Regions from separate parts of the Homo sapiens genome. Here all the other regions are linked to region 1. Evidence: promoter capture Hi-C in 16 types of primary human blood cells and fetal thymus (Javierre and others, 2016). All regions are on one chromosome and are shown on one strand. Each heading gives the region's core, a stretch centred on a gene start or on the middle of the fragment in contact. The rest is flanking DNA. Distances are from core to core; before and after follow the strand shown. Region 1 holds the start of CD1D (CD1d molecule). Region 2 holds the start of MNDA (myeloid cell nuclear differentiation antigen). Region 3 overlaps PYHIN1 (pyrin and HIN domain family member 1). Region 4 overlaps IFI16 (interferon gamma inducible protein 16). Region 5 holds the start of FCRL4 (Fc receptor like 4). Region 6 has its middle 18 kb from the start of PYDC5. Region 7 overlaps AIM2 (absent in melanoma 2).

The links. Contacts are between HindIII fragments. The CHiCAGO score rates a contact against its expected background, and 5 or more counts as called.
Region 2: a fragment that was not itself captured here is called in contact with the fragment with the promoter of CD1D in region 1 in 2 of 17 cell types (naive CD4 T cells and monocytes); the score reaches 5.5 in naive CD4 T cells.
Region 3: a contact is called between a fragment that was not itself captured here and the fragment with the promoter of CD1D in region 1, in 1 of 17 cell types (neutrophils). The highest score is 6.1, in neutrophils.
Region 4: a contact is called between a fragment that was not itself captured here and the fragment with the promoter of CD1D in region 1, in 5 of 17 cell types (fetal thymus, naive CD8 T cells, total CD4 T cells and 2 more). The highest score is 10.6, in fetal thymus.
Region 5: a contact is called between the fragment with the promoter of FCRL4 here and the fragment with the promoter of CD1D in region 1, in 1 of 17 cell types (total B cells). The highest score is 7.3, in total B cells.
Region 6: a contact is called between a fragment that was not itself captured here and the fragment with the promoter of CD1D in region 1, in 6 of 17 cell types (endothelial precursors, neutrophils, naive CD4 T cells and 3 more). The highest score is 8.9, in endothelial precursors.
Region 7: a contact is called between a fragment that was not itself captured here and the fragment with the promoter of CD1D in region 1, in 4 of 17 cell types (naive CD8 T cells, neutrophils, naive CD4 T cells and 1 more). The highest score is 7.2, in naive CD8 T cells.

Annotation. Positions count from the first base shown.
Region 1 is chr1:158,179,562-158,182,261 of GRCh38, reverse strand. CD1D (CD1d molecule) reads right to left here and starts at 1,367. Exons shown (of 6, transcript NM_001371762.2): 1 at 1,100-1,367; 2 at 541-807; 3 at 1-230. The coding sequence starts at 1,160. RefSeq lists an enhancer at 837-896 and a silencer at 2,309-2,358. The HindIII fragment of the contact is 7,344 bases long and covers 1-2,700 here.
Region 2 is chr1:158,830,561-158,833,260 of GRCh38, reverse strand. MNDA (myeloid cell nuclear differentiation antigen) reads right to left here and starts at 1,910. Exons shown (of 7, transcript NM_002432.3): 1 at 1,704-1,910. It also overlaps a transcript of OR6N1 not described here. The HindIII fragment of the contact is 873 bases long and covers 915-1,787 here.
Region 3 is chr1:158,937,977-158,940,676 of GRCh38, reverse strand. It overlaps PYHIN1 (pyrin and HIN domain family member 1), which reads right to left. Exons shown (of 9, transcript NM_152501.5): 3 at 2,135-2,280; 4 at 1,430-1,597. Among named protein-coding and RNA genes, the nearest start is that of PYHIN1, 7.8 kb to the right of the region's middle. RefSeq lists an enhancer at 1,181-2,380. The HindIII fragment of the contact is 1,363 bases long and covers 769-2,131 here.
Region 4 is chr1:159,033,534-159,036,233 of GRCh38, reverse strand. The region is part of intron 7 of IFI16 (interferon gamma inducible protein 16); the gene reads right to left. Among named protein-coding and RNA genes, the nearest start is that of IFI16, 25 kb to the right of the region's middle. The HindIII fragment of the contact is 563 bases long and covers 1,105-1,667 here.
Region 5 is chr1:157,596,676-157,599,375 of GRCh38, reverse strand. FCRL4 (Fc receptor like 4) reads left to right here and starts at 1,291. Exons shown (of 12, transcript NM_031282.3): 1 at 1,291-1,462. The coding sequence starts at 1,432. The HindIII fragment of the contact is 1,174 bases long and covers 151-1,324 here.
Region 6 is chr1:158,983,084-158,985,783 of GRCh38, reverse strand. It overlaps a transcript of PYHIN1 not described here. Among named protein-coding and RNA genes, the nearest start is that of PYDC5, 18 kb to the left of the region's middle. The HindIII fragment of the contact is 1,925 bases long and covers 374-2,298 here.
Region 7 is chr1:159,060,767-159,063,468 of GRCh38, reverse strand. AIM2 (absent in melanoma 2) reads left to right here. Exons shown (of 6, transcript NM_004833.3): 6 at 751-985. The coding sequence ends at 777. Among named protein-coding and RNA genes, the nearest start is that of AIM2, 15 kb to the left of the region's middle. The HindIII fragment of the contact is 2,288 bases long and covers 267-2,554 here.

The DNA.
Region 1 (2,700 bases), core at 118-2,617:
TTGGGGGCAGGTGCCATTAAGGAGCCACTGCACTGTTTCCCTCGTCCACTTGTCCTGGTTGAGCACTTGAATGGCCAAGTTTACCCAAAGTGGGGCCTCTTGGGTTGGCTCCCAAGAAGTTCCTTGGAAACTCAGGATATCTTTTCCTTGAAATGCTACATGGAAGAAGTTATTTGAGGCGTTCCCAGGGTGCACCTCACAGCCAGCGGACACCTGGAGCTCCAAGGGATCTGTGGAGAGGAATGGAGAAAGATCAAAGAAGGGTTTAAAAGACTGGGAGAGATGAAAGAGAAGAAATTGATGTGCAGGTTATAATGGGGACCCAGACTTCAGGGAAAGGAAAGTAAGTGACCTGGAGTAGGCAGGAACGAGGGACACTTTGAGGAGTCAAAGCCTGGGACATCTCCAGGTAGAAGGGAAATCAGAAGAGGGTGGACAGAGCAGAGAATCTCATCAGGTGGTGCCACAGTCTCCCAGTTGAGTTTCTGTGGCCATTCTCTCCCCTTGGGTACCGGCCCAGGATCCTATCCCTCAGCTCACAGGATAAGCGTAGCATTTTGGCGAATTCCTTCACGTCCCTGGTGAAGCTGCTTCGATAAACCCGAAATATATGCTGCAGCGTCTCCCACTGCTGGTCGCTGAACGTGCCCTGGGACCAAGGCTTCAGAGAGCGGACGGTGTCCGAGTCGTTGCTCCAGCTGTGCGTCTGCAGCTCCCCCAGCCACGCCAAGCCGTCGGTGCGCGTCCAGCTGCTATTGGCGAAGGACGAGATCTGGAGGCAGCGGAGGGGGAAAAGCCTTTGCGGGACTGGGAGAGAATGAAGATTGGAGGCGTGTAGCAAGTGGCCGGGAGAGCAGCCAGCATAAAGAGAAGGAAGAAAGAAACAAGAGGAGATGAGCTTCAGGAGGCGGCTGATGCCAGCGAACTCTGTGCCGCGCTGCCTCTCCCCGGAGCCAGGGAGCAGCGAGTTTTCTACCTAGATCGCGCCAGTGCGTCCCGGGTCTCACCAGTCCCCATCAGGCGTTGCCCTCCCCGTCCCTACCCAGCTCCCTCTCTCCGCCCTCCCGCGAGTGCACTCAAGCGCCCTCGTTCCACCCACCTTCAGCGCTTCCCCAAGCCTGGAGGAGCGCCCAGAGCAGCAGAAACAGCAGGCACCCCATATCGCCCGGCGTGGGGACCTCGCGGAGCGCCGCTGCGCGCCGCCCTCTGACCTGCGCACTCTTCTCCCCCGCCGCTCAGCTCACGTCCCTTTCCGCTGGGTGCCAGCCAATTCCCAAGCCCAGACCCCGGCAGCCCTCCTCGCTGGGCTTGCCGGCGGTTTGCTGCTTCTGCCGAAGGGCGCCCTCGCCCTTAGCTGTGCGAGCTGCAAAGAGGTCGGGGTCCCAGGAATCCTGGCGCCGCCGCTCACTTCAGTAGGTTTCACAACCGGCGTGTCTCAATTTCCTGTTTCAAAGGAGACTTTGGGTCAACGTGTGGGACGCTTTACAACCATTATTTATGTTTTGGAAGCAGGACATAAGGTTGTGTCTGTGTTACAATTCCAACCATGGTAAAAATGCAAAGGGAAAAAAGGATCAAAGTCCTTGCTTTAGCAGTACATGTCTCTAGGTGGAAAGACTATGAGTGATCTTAATTTGCTTTACATCTTTATGTTTTCCAAAATTTCTCAAGTGCAAGTACCACATTTACAATAAAGTAAACGCATGAAAATTAATTTCCTCAGTTGCACATTGAGAGAACTGGATTAGGTTGGCTACAATTCTTTACAACTGTCATATCCCAGGATTCCTCCACCTCAGTGTTCCCTAGCCTCTCTTTCCTCCTGTCATGGTCCTTGCTCTCCCCTCCCCGGCCTCTGCTCTGTCTTCCCTGTCTCCTTTTTGGGGACGCGCCCCCAGACTCTCTTCCTCCTCTCCGCCCTAGGCTCTGCCGGCATACCTTCTCCTCTGGCTCCTGACTCATTCACTTTCCAAATATGCGCCTCTGTCTTAAACAGTAAGTGTAAGATGACAGTGTGTACCTGGACAGCCAACTCGCCACTTCTCACACTGAAAATAAGAAAAAGTGACCAAAAATCGTGGTTCTAAGCCTTAGCTCACCTGGAGGAAAAGACTCCTCTTTGGCAACTCAGAACCTGGGCTGCAGCCTGACACCTCCCTCTCCCTCACTCTTTTTATCCAATCTATCTCCAACTCATCTCTATTTCACTTCTTTTTGAATACCTCTTGAATAAATTCCTTTTTCTATATTTCCACCGTCACCATCACCCTAACCTTTTGACTGATCTCCTGAAGTAGCATTCTTGGGTAGAAAACAAAATCATTAGCACGGCCTGCAAGATTATGCGCCCTCTAGCCCTGGTGTCTACCTTTTGACATCACCTCACACCCCAGCATCATTTGCTCTGTACTGTAGCCTGGCTGTTAGCTTTCAGTTCCTCCACTATGCAAAACCTCTTCCTGACTAAGGTCTCTGCACAAAGTTCCCTCTACATGAAAGCTCTTGACCTTCTCCTCACCTCACCCCCTCCCAATGCCTAGTTATTTCCACTAAGGTATCAGTTCCAAGGTCACTTTCTCAGGGAAGTCTTTCCAGATCTGCCAGACTGTGTGACCCTAGGCAGGAGAAGTAGGGCAGTCCCAACCTCCACTGCTTGTACACTAACTGGCTTTGAGAAGCCATCCTCTCAGCATGTAGCAG
Region 2 (2,700 bases), core at 102-2,601, 650 kb before region 1:
CCACAGCTCTTTGTGAAGAACTACTCATTATGAAAAGAAATAAATCTAAGAAATGTTGGAGGCCAAAAGGGAAGAAAGATCAAGCAAATACTTTAATTAGTGTTTTTACTATCTTAAAAATAAGTAAAGCCAGAGTCAAATAAAAGAAAACAGGAACTATATGAACATACTCTTAACAGGTGAAGTTGTATGTTTGGGGGACCAGAAGATGTGAGAGTTTGCTAAGGGGCTTGTCTTTAAGGAGAATATAGATTTTTTAAAAATAAGAAACTTGACAAGAAAGGAGAAGAAGAAAGCACAGAATAAGTGCTATAAATTGAAACAAAGTAAGATGGCAAAACCAAGTTAAAATATATACCTTTATAGAATTTGCATATCTGGACTAAACTCATCAACTAGGAGGAAAAATTTTCAATTTGGATTAAAAATAAATCCAGTCATATGTTGTTGACAAAGTACAAATAAAGCATAAGTTCACTTAAGTTTGAGAAAGAGCTGGAAAAGTTATATTCTTCAAACTCTAACTTAAAGAAAGACTTTTTAGGAAAAATAGTGTAGCTTAAAATAGGCTTAAGTCAATAAGTATCAGTACATAGTTTCACTACATAATGGTAAAGTATGCAACTTGGAAAAAGATATAATAATTTAAATTATATTATAAATATAATCTGTTATTACTTTATAAAGTAGCATATAGAAGTTTTTTCTTCTCTCTAAACACACACATAACATATATACTTAGATATACATATTCTATGTAAAAATATATGGTAGAAATCAAAAGAACTACAATGAGAAATTAACAAAATCACTATTAGAGTTGGAGATTTCACCACATCTCTCAGTTACTGAAAGAACAAGGTAAAAAATAGCTTAGATTTAGATTTAGATTTTTCAAACATAATTAACAAGCTTACTTAAGAAACTTTATCTTACTTAAATAGAATTTGGAATCCAACGTTTATAAACTCTTCTCAAGTACTCATGGAGTAATTAGAAAACATTCATATGTACAAAGCCATAAAAAAGTCAAAATGTATCCCAAAGTAGGAAATATATAATTGATTCTCCCTGTCTTTTCATTATACCTTGCCACAAAAAATGTTATCTATGACTGAGTAAAGCATAGACCATTTGAAAAAGAGAATTATTTCTTCTTACACTTGTTGTAAAATGAAGCATAAAATGAAACTGATTCATGAAAATGTAAAGATTATTTTTGAGTAAATGCTTGTAAAATTGAGAAATTAATGTGTGCACATGTCTATGCTTTTTAAAATAGAGATAAAATCATATAATAGAGATTTATATCCTGGTTTATTTTTTACTAAATATTACTTCATAATAATTTTCTTATCTGACTGTCTTGTCTTTTAACTTAGGCCCAAACCCAGTCACCAAGTCATCCTCCAGCCAAGAAAACCAAGTATCTCCTCTAAATATCAATTTATGCCAAAAGACACCCAAGAATTAATTTTTAAAACCTGCTGTAGACAAAATACATTTTTTTGGTTCATACCCCAATTGTGGTAGAATAAAAGATATCCATTTGCTACCTAGACAGTTAAAGCATTCAGTTCTCAGTTTTCTGAATATGATTGATAACAACACTTCTGGTCTCAGGCAATTATTCTCTACTGAGATGGTGTGGTTACCAACTAGATACCTAGATCTTTCTCTAAAGAACTTCCCAGAAATCTCACCTTAATGGATGCTTCTTCCACAATAGTCTTCAGAAATCCTGGAGTCACTGTCTTGTTTAGGACAGAATCACTGTCCGTAAAGCTTTGGAGAGATTAAACTGCAGACTATTTTAATCTTGTAAAGGGCTGAGAAATGAAAGCTAACAAGGAAAAATGGCACTTGTTAGAGCCACTCTCAATCTTGATTGTAGATGGCCTTCTTACACTGTCCTAATTCCTAACTAGAAAGAAGTTATGTAATCATGAAACAATTTTGAAGCCACGCCTATCAGCCTTTGTAGCTTTCTATTTCAGATGTCAGAGAAAGTGGTCAGTTCCTCTTTGTAGTAAGTAATCTCAGTCACAAGGAGAAATGACAGTAAATGGTGCCTCTTCTTCGCTTTTTTGACTTACAAATACTTGCTGAAAGGAGTTTCAAACTCAGAACTTTCTTATAAAGCTAACTTACATATAGGTCATTAGAAACCGGTAGCCGCTTGAATAAGGATCTTAATATAAATTGGGAAAGGCAAAACACCAAAGTTTCTCCCTCCTTTCCTGTTCACAGAGTGGCAGGAGCAGGAGATCTTGGTAGAGATGTCTATTGCTACCAGAACTTGACTTCATCTCTTGGATAGGGGTGGGTCTACTGTGAAATTGTTTTTGTTTAAATAGTACCTACATATTCACCCAGTTATTAATAACTGATACACCTGGAGCTTGACAGAGGCAGAAAGTCATTATGAATATGTAAATCCTTATTCAAATAATTTGAAAGAGTTTCATACTAGTTGCTCTCTTGAGTATAATAACTGAGCTGCCTTACCTTGATTATTAAATTCATGATTACTCATGCTTTTTGCATTATTTATGGATAGTTGGTTCATATCATGACTGAAACCTTGAACATTCTGGAACAGCACTGAAACTCTGGAATGATAGGGGGCCTGATAAACCCTTTGTACTGCAATTTTTTTTTCCTGTGAAGAACAGTGGGTGCACTACAAAGTATCATAAC
Region 3 (2,700 bases), core at 201-2,700, 760 kb before region 1:
GTGGTGTGGTTTCATCACTTGTTGCCCTTCATAATTGATCCCCTTTATTGTGTATCAGAAATATAGAACATTTTTTTAATAATAAAGCTCATTAGAGTTTCAATTAGTTTTTAGACTATTGCTGATACATGCATATAGTAAGGCTGACCTGTCCAAATTTGAGATGAGTACAGCATTATAAGGATTATCAGAATCATGCAATTATTAATTGTAATTTACTTTCTTTCATTTGTAAGTCTTGGTGTATCGTCTTCTGCCTGCCTACATTTTCCCAAACTCCTGAGCTCTCTTCCCTATTCCATCACTTCCCTTTGTTTTTACAACCTTTTGGCCTCACAATAGGTATCTTTGACTGAGTCAGATGACCTTTATTTGTCATTTGCTTAGCTGTAGTGGTTCATATCTTAGAATATGGTTTCCTTTTTTTTTTTTTTTTTTACTTTTTTATTTTGAGATGGAGTCTCGCTCTGTCACCCAGGCTGGAGTGCAGTGGTGCGATCTCAGCTCACTGCAACCTCCACCTCCCTGGTTCAAGCAATTCCCCTGCCTCAGCCTCCTGAGTAGCTGGGATTATAGGCGTAAGCCACCATACCCAGCTAATTTTTTTGTATTTTTAGTAGAGATAGTGTTTCACCATGTTGGCCAGACTAGTCTCAAACTCCTGACCTCAGGCAATCCACCTGCCTCGGCCTCCCAAAGTGCTGGGATTACAGGCGTGAGCCACTGGGTTTTCATTTTTTCGTTGAGCAAAGGTATTTATTGGAAGCTTCCCATGAGGCAGACACTGAACTAGGCCCTCGTTTACAGTGGTCCACAGAATTACAAACTAGCCCTAATCTTGGAACTACTTTGAGTAGGTGGGAAAGATAAACACTTATTAACTTCAGTTGTCATAAACAGTAGAAAAGAAAGAAGTTCCTAGGAAACAGAACACCATGAAGATTTAACCTGTTACAGGGGTCTAAGTGAGGATTCCCTGAGGATAAGATCTCAATATTGGGATCCAGAGGGTGGATAGGGTTGGCCAGGTAAGAGTTTAAAGGTGAAAGAAATATGGTGTGTGAAAATCCTAAAGGAAAAAGGAGCATGGTGTATGTCAGAGAAACTTGAACAAATTAGTGAGCAAAGGGAATGGGTGTATAATAGATGGGGGCAGTAGACAGTGAGTCTGTTGCTGAAAGTTCCAGATTCCGCAGTTCTCTGTCTCTTCCCCAAACAGCACAGGACAGAAAACTTCCTGCAGTCAGAGATAATGTCAAGTTCATCAAATATGCCTGTGGAAGCAAAAGATTAAAATGCAGTGAATTCTCAGTCTATACATTTGATTTACTGGCTGATGATTGATGTCATTTTTCAGTAGAAGATGAAATCAGATTCCTACATTTTGGGTTGAAGAAAATGAATCAAAAGGGGACCAGGAAGAGTGTACCTCAGTTGAGGAAGTGTTGGGTGGAGCTGATGATGAGGTCTGGGGAGGTGGGGAACGGCCCATGGCTGTGGACGTGCTGGCTCCTGCAGAGCAGGAAGGCCGAGTCTGCTCTTTGGACATCTTACTCCTTTTGGTTCCAGTCTCTTCTTCAGATGGTTTTTTTCTTTTCTACAAGTAGTTTATTTTTCTTGTTAATTACTTTCAGTGTCAAATGAAGCAGAGCACATTTTCATTACAAGGTAATATATTTATTGTATATAAATTGTTTTTCTTGGAAACTTAAGTACATCCCCAGGCCAATTGAAAGAACATGGCATAGATGGTTTCATTTTTAAAAAGGGAGCAGAGAAAGTAACACACATCATTCCTTAATTACTTGTGTTTTGGGATATGCTGACTTGCAGTTAAGAAACTAGGCTTTTGTAAACATAGGCAAACGTTTTTTTATCTGACTCTCAAGTTAACATCCTTCTCTATTGGAGATGAAAATATTATATTTATTTTATGTATATTTACATTATGTTTACTAAAGCGTTTAACTTGTTGCCTTGCAGAAAGATGATCAATTATTATGTAATTTGATAAATCTGAAACTTGATGGGAAACATATGAAGAAATAACTGCCTGCTGGACAGATTGAGTGGAACAGCCACAGCAGAGCTTCCACTGTGAGACTTGAAGCCTGCTCCTCTTCCTGAAGCTTACCTGAGGTCCAAGAGTCTCCTCTGCTCCTTTAGCTGTGAGACGGTTGCTTGGGGTGCATGCAGGTGTAGCAGGATACACTTCTTTCTGTTTCGTCTTTTTAGATGGGATTATTCCTTTGACTGGAATGGATTCAATTTTATTTGCAACTAATGCAGAAAAAAGGAAGATGTATAAACCCAGAGCAGATGATCGGGGACACCCGAAGCAGTTTCAATACTATTTGCTCTTAGCTCCTGCTTGAGGGTTCAGGTGTATTTTAGTCTATCTCTATTGCATTAGCCTAGTCTGGCTTCCAGGAGGCCAGCAGGAGAAACAAAGGCACAAACACTGACTCACACTCCTCAGTGCTTTCATCACTCCTCCCCTGTGCAGTGAGAACATCCTTCCTGTCCTCTGAACTCCATGTGCTCAGTCAAACCCTTTCCCAATCCTATTCTATCATTTCCTTTTAAAATGTAAGGTTCTCATGATGCTGACTGCTTAGTCATATTCTCCAGATAATCTATTTAAATTACAGAAACTAGTGAAAGGAGATGTTAAATAGGTTTGTGAGGTGAGATATGGTG
Region 4 (2,700 bases), core at 137-2,636, 850 kb before region 1:
TGACTGTTATGAGGAAAGAATGCAACAATATACATAAAGAATACAGGTTTTAAAACCAGCACCTAGTAAGTGCTTACGAAGTAGAAATCCGATTTATGTCACTGTTGTTACACTGTCTCTGCAGGGATTTGTATGTGTGTTCTGATTAACTGCCGTCTCATATTCTGTTTACCTTGTTGACAGAAACCCTAGATCGAGTTGGTATGGGAAGCTTTTTATTAAAGAGACTTCTCTATTCATTTCTGCCACTTATTCACGAGAGTACCTTGGAGTATTATCTTCTCAAATTCATTTAAGTAAAACAGTCCCATAACCAGAGTAGAATTTAGATGAGAGAAATGTAATCTTTGGTTGAATAATATTTTAAATCACTATGTAATTTTTTTTCTTAGAGCAATTATCTCCCCTCCCATCCCTGCTCCTGATTCATGTCAATTTATGTTTCTTGCTTTAGGTGTACAGAACAGAAAAAAAAAAATCAATGATAAGAATAGCCTGTTTGTTTTAAATCTCAATGAATATAGAGCGTATACCATAGAGAAAATCTTTGGGAAACCCTATGATCAGTGGAACAAGACTATACTCACCTGCGAGTCACTAGGAAAGTAGTTAGACAGACAACTGTATTTACAGACGATAGTGGACACCCAAGAATAAATGGCTGCGTAGTGTGTTTAGGTGCATGAGGCCATGAAGGCATATAATCCTCCTGGGATTCCTGTGCTCCAGGGAAGTTCACATACAGCACAATCATTTGTACAGCTGTAGCAAGGGTTGTGATTCATATTTTAGCAGGTGGGACTTAGAAATTCTCACATAATCCTTTCAAAGAAATATGAGTGATAAAAGCATAGTTGTTTGGAGATGCCACTTTAGTCACTGAAAAGGCACAAAGAAAATGGATCTTAGGTTGCAATGACTGAGCAAGGGCTCCTTCCACAGCCACCTGTGCCAAGATGGCAAAAAGACACAGGTTCTGTTCTTCAAATAACACCTGCATAAACTATGGAGGGAAATACAGCTTTCTGAAGCTAGCTAAAAATTACAACAATGAAAACAAACCAAAAAAAAATCAAAATAGAGAATCCTTAAATATAGGAAGCTTCTCTTCCAGGATGTGTACATGGTGGCTGGAGGTATCTGCTGCTGGGTCAGAATACAGCTTGGGGCTTGGGTAAGAAGCAACTGTAAAAAATAATGATTTAATCCTTCTGCTTTTCCTCCAAGTTTCCTGCCCCTTCACCACAGGTACAGGCTTCCGAACCCTCAGTGCAGGTGACTACAAGGGTCATATCACTGCTGAGCAAAAGGTAATCTGGAATAAGAATTGATGCACATAGCATGAACTGACTTTTTCCCCTCTTGTATTCTGTTCCTCTGGGGTAGACGCTACCTACCATCTGAGCTTATGGTATATAAAAGGAGAAAATTACTCCCACACCCCAATTGTTTAAATGCTATTAGGAAAAATAAAGGGAGCTAGGAAAGCTCACAAAGGGAGGACCAGAGAGAACCAACTATGGGAGGATCTCACCTAATCTGAAACGTGGTTGCCAGTGAGGACTTGCTCTAGGAAGGGATTTAGGCTGGGGCCTGTGGAGAGTTGGGTTCAAGAAGAGACTGGAGAAAGTGATCCCAGCAAAGGAAGCAATCTATATGTCAAAGCTTCTCATTTGGAAAAGACCATCGATATTTTAAAATAAAACCTGGAATGTGGTCATGAACGAAGTGAAAGGATGAAAGGTAATTGGAATAAAGATAATGAACATATTCTTGTATTCATCTTCCTCCATCTGGCTACTTCCCCACAATCTCTCTCTACACCTGGATCAACAAAAGACAGTAATCCTCTTGAGTCAGGAAGCACTTCATGAACGCATACCTTGTAAATATCAAAAGACACAGAGACTAGTAGGGTCTCAATGAATATACTTAATTAATAGTGAGAAATTTAATCACATACATTTTACTTGATTAAATTACTCTTTCTCTTTCCTGCAGCTCTTCAGGCTCCAGGAAACCCAGCCTTATGTTGCTTTAGATGTTTTGATCATCACTTTGCTAGAAAGATTCTTTAAAATCCACAATTCCAGATGCAGAATTCTGCTGTTTTGTAGTCTGCATCAGCCAGCTAGAATCCTTCAAGGTTCTCAAATGTATTTAGAAATATTGAAGAACTTACCTTGGCATTACCAAGTAAGTGATTTTTTAAAAATACTCTTTACCAAGGGCAAGGAAGTATAACTTCCTTTATTTTGACTATTTTTAACCTTTTTTGTTATTTATTAATATTAGTTTAATTTCCATAGTTCTACCACTTCTGTCATTCAGATATTTAATATAGAAAATGCACTCTGTTAGAGAGGCGAATGAAAGGATTCTACTTCTGGAGGGTGGTTTACTTATTAGAACACACTCTGATCACCACTGGCCACATTTGTTATCAGAAGGTTTGCAAAGCGTGGGCTATGTAACTGTTACGTGACTAATAAATAAATTACTGACATGGCATATATAAACTCCTAATCTAAAGCCATATATAATCATTAATTTTTCACGTTTTAGGTTTAAATAAGACTGGATATGAATCATGACTCTAATTTTCTTTGAAAGCTTGAGGAAGATTTTTAACCTTTCTGTACCTCTATTTTCTTCTCTGTGAATTGGGGCAGAATTAGCATCCTCCTGATGGTTATGAAG
Region 5 (2,700 bases), core at 42-2,541, 580 kb after region 1:
CAGCTTGGATGTTACTTCCTCAGGGAAGCCTCTTATGCATCCCCAGAACTGGGTCAGATTTCCCTCTTAGTGGACTCTCAGAAATTACATACAATTCACTTCTATGTAATTTCCTGTTGACTTGCTGTCTTCTCCACCAGAATGAAAGCTTTCCAAGTCTTGATTAACACTGTACTTCCAGCACCTGGCACCATACCTGAAGCACCATGGTGTTTCTTTTTTTTTGCCATTAACATTTTATATATATATATATATATATATATATATATATATATATATATACACATACATATACACAAGATAATAGCATAAAAAAGTTTTAAAGAGTTATACATACCAAAATATTATACGTACCAAAAAACGTCACTACGGATTTTTCCATTTTTTTCTTAATTTTTTTTTTAAGTTCTGGGATACATGAGCAGAGTGTGCAGGTTTGTTATGGGTAGGGAGAGCATTAGGTGTTTCTCAAAACACCAAACAGCATGTTGCCCAGTGTGAAAGAATCCAAATGGCAAAAATCAAAATTTAATAGAATTATTTAAATACCCACTCTGACTTCCTGACGTGAATCGCTTCTCAAGGCTAAAGCCATCATATTTTCAGAACTCTCTAGCCTCTTGTCTTTCAAGGAAATCACAACTTCTTCTCTCTGCCACCAGATACCAGGCATATGTATTTCAATCAATATATATTTGCCAAGACATTCCTGTAGCAAATTTTGGATTCTAGGACATTAAGTAAAAATGTTATGGCCTATTATCTAGGAAGAGCATGATGGGGCTATAATTTACTCCTCAGCTTGCCTTCTACTCAGATCAAAAGTTGTGGTTTCCCCCTGGACTGATGAGTCAGGATATTTTCATATATATCAGACAAGGTGAGAGTTGTCTTGTGATTGAGATGTTTCATCAGGTCTACAGACGGCCTGCTGGAGGTGTTCCAGTAGAGGTATCAGCGGTCAGAGGAGGCCTTTTCTGTGTTGAATGAGAAATTCTTCATCTCTGGGGATATTCAGGGACATCCTTAGATTATGTGGATTTCAATAGGCCTGCAATCTCACCTCATCTCTAGTAGCAGAGAGAATAGGTTGTGATTTCCTTGAAAGACAGAGCCTAGAGAGTTCTGAAACTAGAGTAGCTTTAGCCTTGAGAAGTGATTCACCCCAGGATGTCACAGCAGTACTTAATTCTATTAAATTTTGATTTTTGTGGTCTGGATTCTCTCACACTGGTCCACATTGCTGTTTGGTGTTTTCAGAAAGATTCCTCTACTTCCCCCTTTCACTTCATTATCTCAATCAGCTTTATGCAGAGAAGAAGCTTACTGAGCTCACTGCTGGTGCTGGTGTAGGCAAGTGCTGCTTTGGCAATCTGGGCTGACCTGGCTTGTCTCCTCAGAACTCCTTCTCCAATCCTGGAGCAGGCTTCCATGCTGCTGTGGGCGTCCTTGCTGGCCTTTGGTAAGTGATGGGGAGGAGACCTTTGCTTGCTGCAAAGCTGAGCCTCACCATGAGCAAAAGCCCTCTTTTCTGCTGCTGCAATCATGGATTTTTACTCCCATTTTAGAACAGCAGAAAATGAACAAAAAGGAAAGATAATGATTTACTGGTAGAAGGGGAAAATGATAATAATTGATTTCCAAAGATGTATTTCTCATCTATTTTTGCTATGAATTGCCTATGGAAAATCATTTTACCCCCAAATGGACTTATTTTGTTTATGCAAAAAGAAACCTATGGCTAGGTTCAGTCCCTACGTCACAGAGCATGAGGACCCAGAGGAAAAGATGGACTGAGTTATTTGTGAAGGATAAAGTCCTGATTGTGAACTCAGGTAGAAAGGATCACCTGCTGAGAATAGTTATTTCCTTCTCTGTATTCTAAGTTCAAACCTGTTCTGATGTTTGCAAAGAGCATGAGAAGAGAAGAGATAAGATGATTTCCCTTTGATTTTTTTCTTCCTGCTTTTGTACCACTTGTCAGTGTTTGTCCAAATGAGGCACGGATTTCCTAGTTGCTCAAACTAGGGAATTAAAGAACAGTCAGTCTTTTGTTCATTAAATATTTATTAAGCGTATTTGTCTAGTTCCCACCTGATCCCCAGACCCCAACTAAGGGAAGACCTATTAGTGTGATTGGCACATGATAGGAACTAAGGAGTGAGTGGATGGGTATACTTGGCATGCCACACTGCTGGGCACCACAGAGGATGCAGAGACCTGAAGGACACAGATTCTGCCCTCAAGAGGTGACATTCTCAATAGAACCTCAACGTACACATGCAAGAACATCTGACTCGACAATATGAGAAAAATATTACACAAATAGTTACAGGATAATGTGTGAGGATGTCAGTTAATTTGTGCTAAGCCCTGGCTACATCCCACTTTTCTAAGGGCACCCCATGTATAAATGTATCCAATTCTCTAACATTTGATCAGGTGGAACTTTTATAACTCCCATTTACAAATGAGGAAATGAAGGCACAAAGATGTTGGTCTTGTCCCTGAGGTTTATGCAGCTAGTACAGTGGCAGAGTCAGGATTCGAACCCATAATCTAACTTTGGAAACTAGGCTTTTAACTACTACCCTCTACTGTCTGTCTCATTTTGAGTTCCAAATTAGCTATGATAATAAGTGTTCTGAGTCAAGAGAAGAGGAATCAGCAGCAGCCCCATACTAAAAAATTAATGACAGC
Region 6 (2,700 bases), core at 87-2,586, 800 kb before region 1:
CACAGAAAGAGAGGGAGAGAGACCAAGCAACTTGGAGAACATATTTGAAGATATTGTCCCTGAAAATTTACCTGACCTTGCTAGAGAGGTTGACATGTAAATTCAGGAAATTCAGAGTACCCCAGCAAGATATTACACAAGATGACAATCCCTAAGACACATAGTTATCCAATTCTCCAAGATCAAGGTAAATAAAACATATGAAAGGCAGCAAAAGAGAAGAGGCAGATCATGTACAAAGGGAACCCTTATCACACTAACAGTGGACCTTTCAGCAGAAATTTTTCAAGCCAGAAAAGATTAAAGGCCTACATTCAGCATTCTTAAACAAAAGAAATTCTAACCATGATTTCATATCCAGCCGAACCAAGCTTTGTAAGTGAAAAAGAAACATAATCCTTTTCAGACAAACAAACACTAAGCGAATTTGTTACCATTAGGCCTGCCTTATAAGAGGTCCTTCAGGGAGTGCTGAACATGGAAACAAAAGGCTGCTACCTGCCACAAAACAACACACTTAAGTAAATATTCCACTGACACAATATGCAACTATACAATCAAGTCTACATAACAACCAGCTAATAACACTATGACAGGATCAAATCCTTACATATCAATATTAACCTTGAACATAAGCAGGCTAACCACTCCACTTAAAAGGCACAGAATGGTAAGTTGGATAAAGAAGCAAGACTCAATTACATGCTGTCTTCAAGAGACCCACCTTACATGTAAAGACACAGGCTTAAATTAAATGGATGGAGGAATATCTATAAAGCAAATGGAAAACAAACAAAATAGAGCAGGGGTTGCTCTTTTATTTCAGGAAAAAAAAAACAGACCTTAAACCAAAAGCTATCAAAGAGGATGAAGAAGGGCATCACATAATGATAAAAAGTTCAATTCTACAAACAAGACTTAACTATCCTAAAGATGTGTGCATTCAGCACTGGCACAACCAGATTCATAAAACAAGTTCTTAGAGACCTATGAAGAGAACTAGCTAACCTCACAATAATAGTGGGAGAATACAACACCCTACTAACATTGTTAGATAAATCATTGAGGGAGAAAACTAACAAAGATATTCAGGAACAAAATTTCACACTTGACTAAATTGACCTAACAGACATATAAGGAACATTCCACTCAACAACAGAATATACATTCTTCTCATCTGCACATGGCACATACTCTGTGCCACATGCTTGGCCACATGCTTGGCCATAAAGCAATGCTCAGGAAATTCAAAAAACAGAAATTATATCAACCACACTCTCAGATCACAGTGCAACAAAAATACAAATCAATACCAAGAAGATCTCTGAAAATCATAGAAGTATTTGGAAATTAAACAACTTACTCCTGAATGACTTTTGGGTAATAAATTAAATTAATGCAGAAATCAAGAAATCTTTGAAACTAATGAAAACAAAAATACAATATATCAGAGTCTCTGGGACACAGCTAAAGCAGTGTTAAGAGAAAAGTTTATAGCACTAAAGGCCTACATCAAAAAGTCAGAAATATCTTAAATTTATACCTAACATCACATTTACAGGAACTAGAAAAAACAAAAGGAAACCAACCCCCAAACTAGCAGAAGAAAAATAATAATCAAAATCTAAGTTGAACCAAATAAAATTGAGATGTGAAAATTCACAAAAATAATTAAGAAAACTAAAAATTGGTTTTTTGAAAGAATAAGATATATAGACCACTAGCCAGATTAATATACAAAAAAAAAAAAAAAAACAGGAGAAGATCCAAATAAATACAATTAGAAATGACAAAGGGGACATTACCATGGAACCCACAGAAATACAAAAACTCTCAAAGACCATTATGAACAATTTCTATGCTGAAAAACTAGAAAATCTAGAAGAAACAGATAAATTCCTGAAAACATACAACCTGCCAAGATTGAACCAGGAAGACATTGAATACCTAAACAGATCAATAACAAGTTCTGAAATTGAATCCATAATAAAATACCTACAAACCAACAAAAGCCATGGATCAGACAGATTCACATCTGAATTCTACCTGATAGATAAGGAGGAGCTGATACCAATCCTACCAAAATTATTCCAAAATATTGAGGAGCGGAGACTCTGCCCTGAATCATTCTATGAGGTCAGCATTATTCTGATACCAAAACCTGACAGAAACACAAAGGAAAAACAAATTCAGGACAATATGCCTGATAAATATTGATGCAAAAGTCCTCAAAAAAAAATACTAGCAAACTAAATCCAGCAGCACAGCAAAAGCTAAGCCACCATGATCAAGTAAGCTTTACCCCTGGAATGCAAAGTTGGTTCAACATACGCAAATTGGTAAATGTGATTTATCACATAAACAGAACTAAAAACAAAAATCACGTGATTATCTAAATAGATGCAGAAAAGGTTTCAATAAATTCAACATTCTTTCATGTTAAAAACCCTCAACAAACTAGGTATCAAAGGAACATACCTCAAAATGAGACATCTATGACAAAACCACAGCCAACATCATATCACAAATAGGCAAAAGCTGAAATCATACCTCTTGAGAACCAGAACAAGACAAAGTTGCCTACTCTCACTACTCCTGGTTCAACATAGCACTGGAAGTTCTAGCCAGAGCAGTCAGGCAAGAGAAAAAAAAATAAAAGACGTCCAAATAGAAAGAAAGGAAGTCAAACTACCTCCTTTT
Region 7 (2,702 bases), core at 161-2,660, 880 kb before region 1:
CAAAGTCAACTCTCCAAGGGGGTGATATTTTTTGTTTTCTATCAGAAAGCCGGACTGGAGCCATTGAACAGGATATAGAGTGGAAGACATTGATATTTAGTACACGTTCATCTCACAGAACTGAGGAACCTCCCTCTTAGGAAACATGTATTCTAGATACACAGTTAAGAGAACATGGGCTTTTCAAGGCAGAGGCGCATATTGTTGTGCCCACAGAGCCCAAAAAAGAGCTCCTTATTTATACTACAAGTCTAAAGCAGAAAGCTTGCCCAGAGTCGGAAAAGTCATTCTGACTAATGTCTTTGAAAGTAGACAGACAATAAATACTTTGAGGACACATTTCCCTAGCCAGTCCCACCACGTCTGCACCTACCATAGTCCAGTGCAGTTAAGTCCATGTAAACCCCTACTCTTGACCTTCCACCACACCCTCCTACCCGTGTCCTGCCACTACTTGGTGCTCTTCCCCAGGTCTCAGTGTTGGTTGCACTGCCTGCTATCTCTGTAAGAGTGGAGGCCAAGATTTGAGAAATATGCGTATGTGACCTTGCTAAGTGGGAGTGTATTTCTCAGGTCAGATATTCACTTCAGGAGTATGATCCAAGGCAGACCAATGTATTAGAAGGGTGGGAACAAAATAATTTTATGAGAAGATGATACATACACTTCAGAAGGCCATAGTGACTGCAAACAGTGGAGGGGCCACTCATCGACTGCATCTCAGACTGCATGTTTTTTTTCTCCATCCAGGTTATTAAGGCCAAAAAAAAAACATAGAGAAGTAAAAAGGACCAATTCAAGCCAACTGGTCTAAGCAGCATTTAATTGAAGAATATGTGATACAGCCTCTTCAATCAGATTGTAAGTTACCTGAAAGCTGCAGTTCACAGGCTCCTCTCTCCACCAAATTAGGATAGAATAATTGCTGGATAAACAAATTCAGAATATCAACAGATGATCACAATAAACATCTGTTTCTCATTCATTACAGTCCCACTATCTCCTTTAGTTTGTCAATCCCTTGTCTCAAGCGAAAATACTTTATCAATGTATTATATGATGTTTATACAAATTTAAAAGTAAACTATATGACAACAATTGCACAAAATACAAGAGGGAAGAATTAGGAGTACACTGTTAGAAGATCCTGTACAACATGTGAAGCAGCGCAGTATTATTTGAAAGTAGATACTGAATAATTAAAGATGTATATTTTGTCCCATAGGGCAATGATTTAGAAATATTTTAAAAGGTATAGAAATAATAACACAATTTTGTGTTATTGGAGAAAGAATAAGCATAAAGCCCAATGGAAAACTAGAGAGCCAAAACTAGGCTTGCACATTTACAGTCTATTGATTTCTACAAAAGTACAACACAGTTCAGTGGAGAAAAGACTAAAAAAAAAGCTACAACAACAATTAGATATCCATACTTAAAAAAATGAATCTGAGCCATTCCTCACTCTTTATACAAAAATAAACTCCAAACAGATCATTGGCTTTTCATAAACAGCTAAAACCATAAAACTTCTACAAGAAAACATGGGAGAAAATCTGTGTGATCTTGGTGTAGGCAAAGATTAAAGATTTAGATATCACACCAAAAGCACAATCTACATAACATAAATGCTTAATAATTTGAACTTCATCAAAATGAAGAACTTCTGTTCTTCAAAAGGTACCATTAAGAGCATTGAAAGGCAAACCATAGATTGGGGCTTAATATTTGTTAGTCACACAGCTGCTGAAGACCCTGTATCCAGGCCAGGCACGGTGGCTCACACCTGTAATCCCAGCACTTTGGGAGGCCCTGGCGGGTGGATCACCTGAGGTCAGGAGTTTGAGACCAGCCTGGCCAACATGGTGAAACCCCATCTCTACTAAAAAAAAAAAAAAAAAAAAAAAAAATAGCCGGGCACGGTGGTGGGCACCTGTAATCCCAGCTACTCGGGAGGCTGAGGCAGGAGAATCACTTGAACCCAGGAGGCGGAGTTTGCAGTGAGCTGAGATTGCGCCATTGCACTCCAGCCTGGGTGATAGAGTAAGACTCTGTCTCAAAAAACAAAAAGATCCTGTATCCAGAATTTATAAAGAACACTCAAAATTCAATAATTGCAGAACAACCAATTAAATGTTTAAAATGGGCAAAAAGATGATACATGGATGTCAAATAAGCACATAAAAATACACTCAACATAATTCATCTTTAAGGAAATGGAAACTAAAACTACAGTGAGATGCCATTATATATTTATTAGAACAGCTAAAATTTAAATTAAAATAGATTACCCATACCAAGTGCTGACAAAGATTTGGAAAAACTGAAACTCTTGTGCACTGCTGGTGGGAATGTCAAATGGTATAACCTTTATGCAAAAGAGTTTGTCCATTTTTAAAAACTTAATATGCATCTACAATGCTAAGGTCTGAGAAGGATACAGAGCAATTGAAACTCTTACTTATTGCTGGTGGGAATGAAAAGTCACATTAGAAAAGAGTTTGGAAATTTCTTATAAATTTAAACATATGCTTACCACATGACACAGCAAGCTTGCTGTAAGTTTTTTATCCACTTGAAATAATTATGTATGTTCACACAAAAATCTGCATGTAAATATTCATGAAAGTTTATTTGTAATTATGCAAAAGTGCAAAAAACTCGATTATCCCTCACCTGAAAAATGAATAAACAAACTTTGG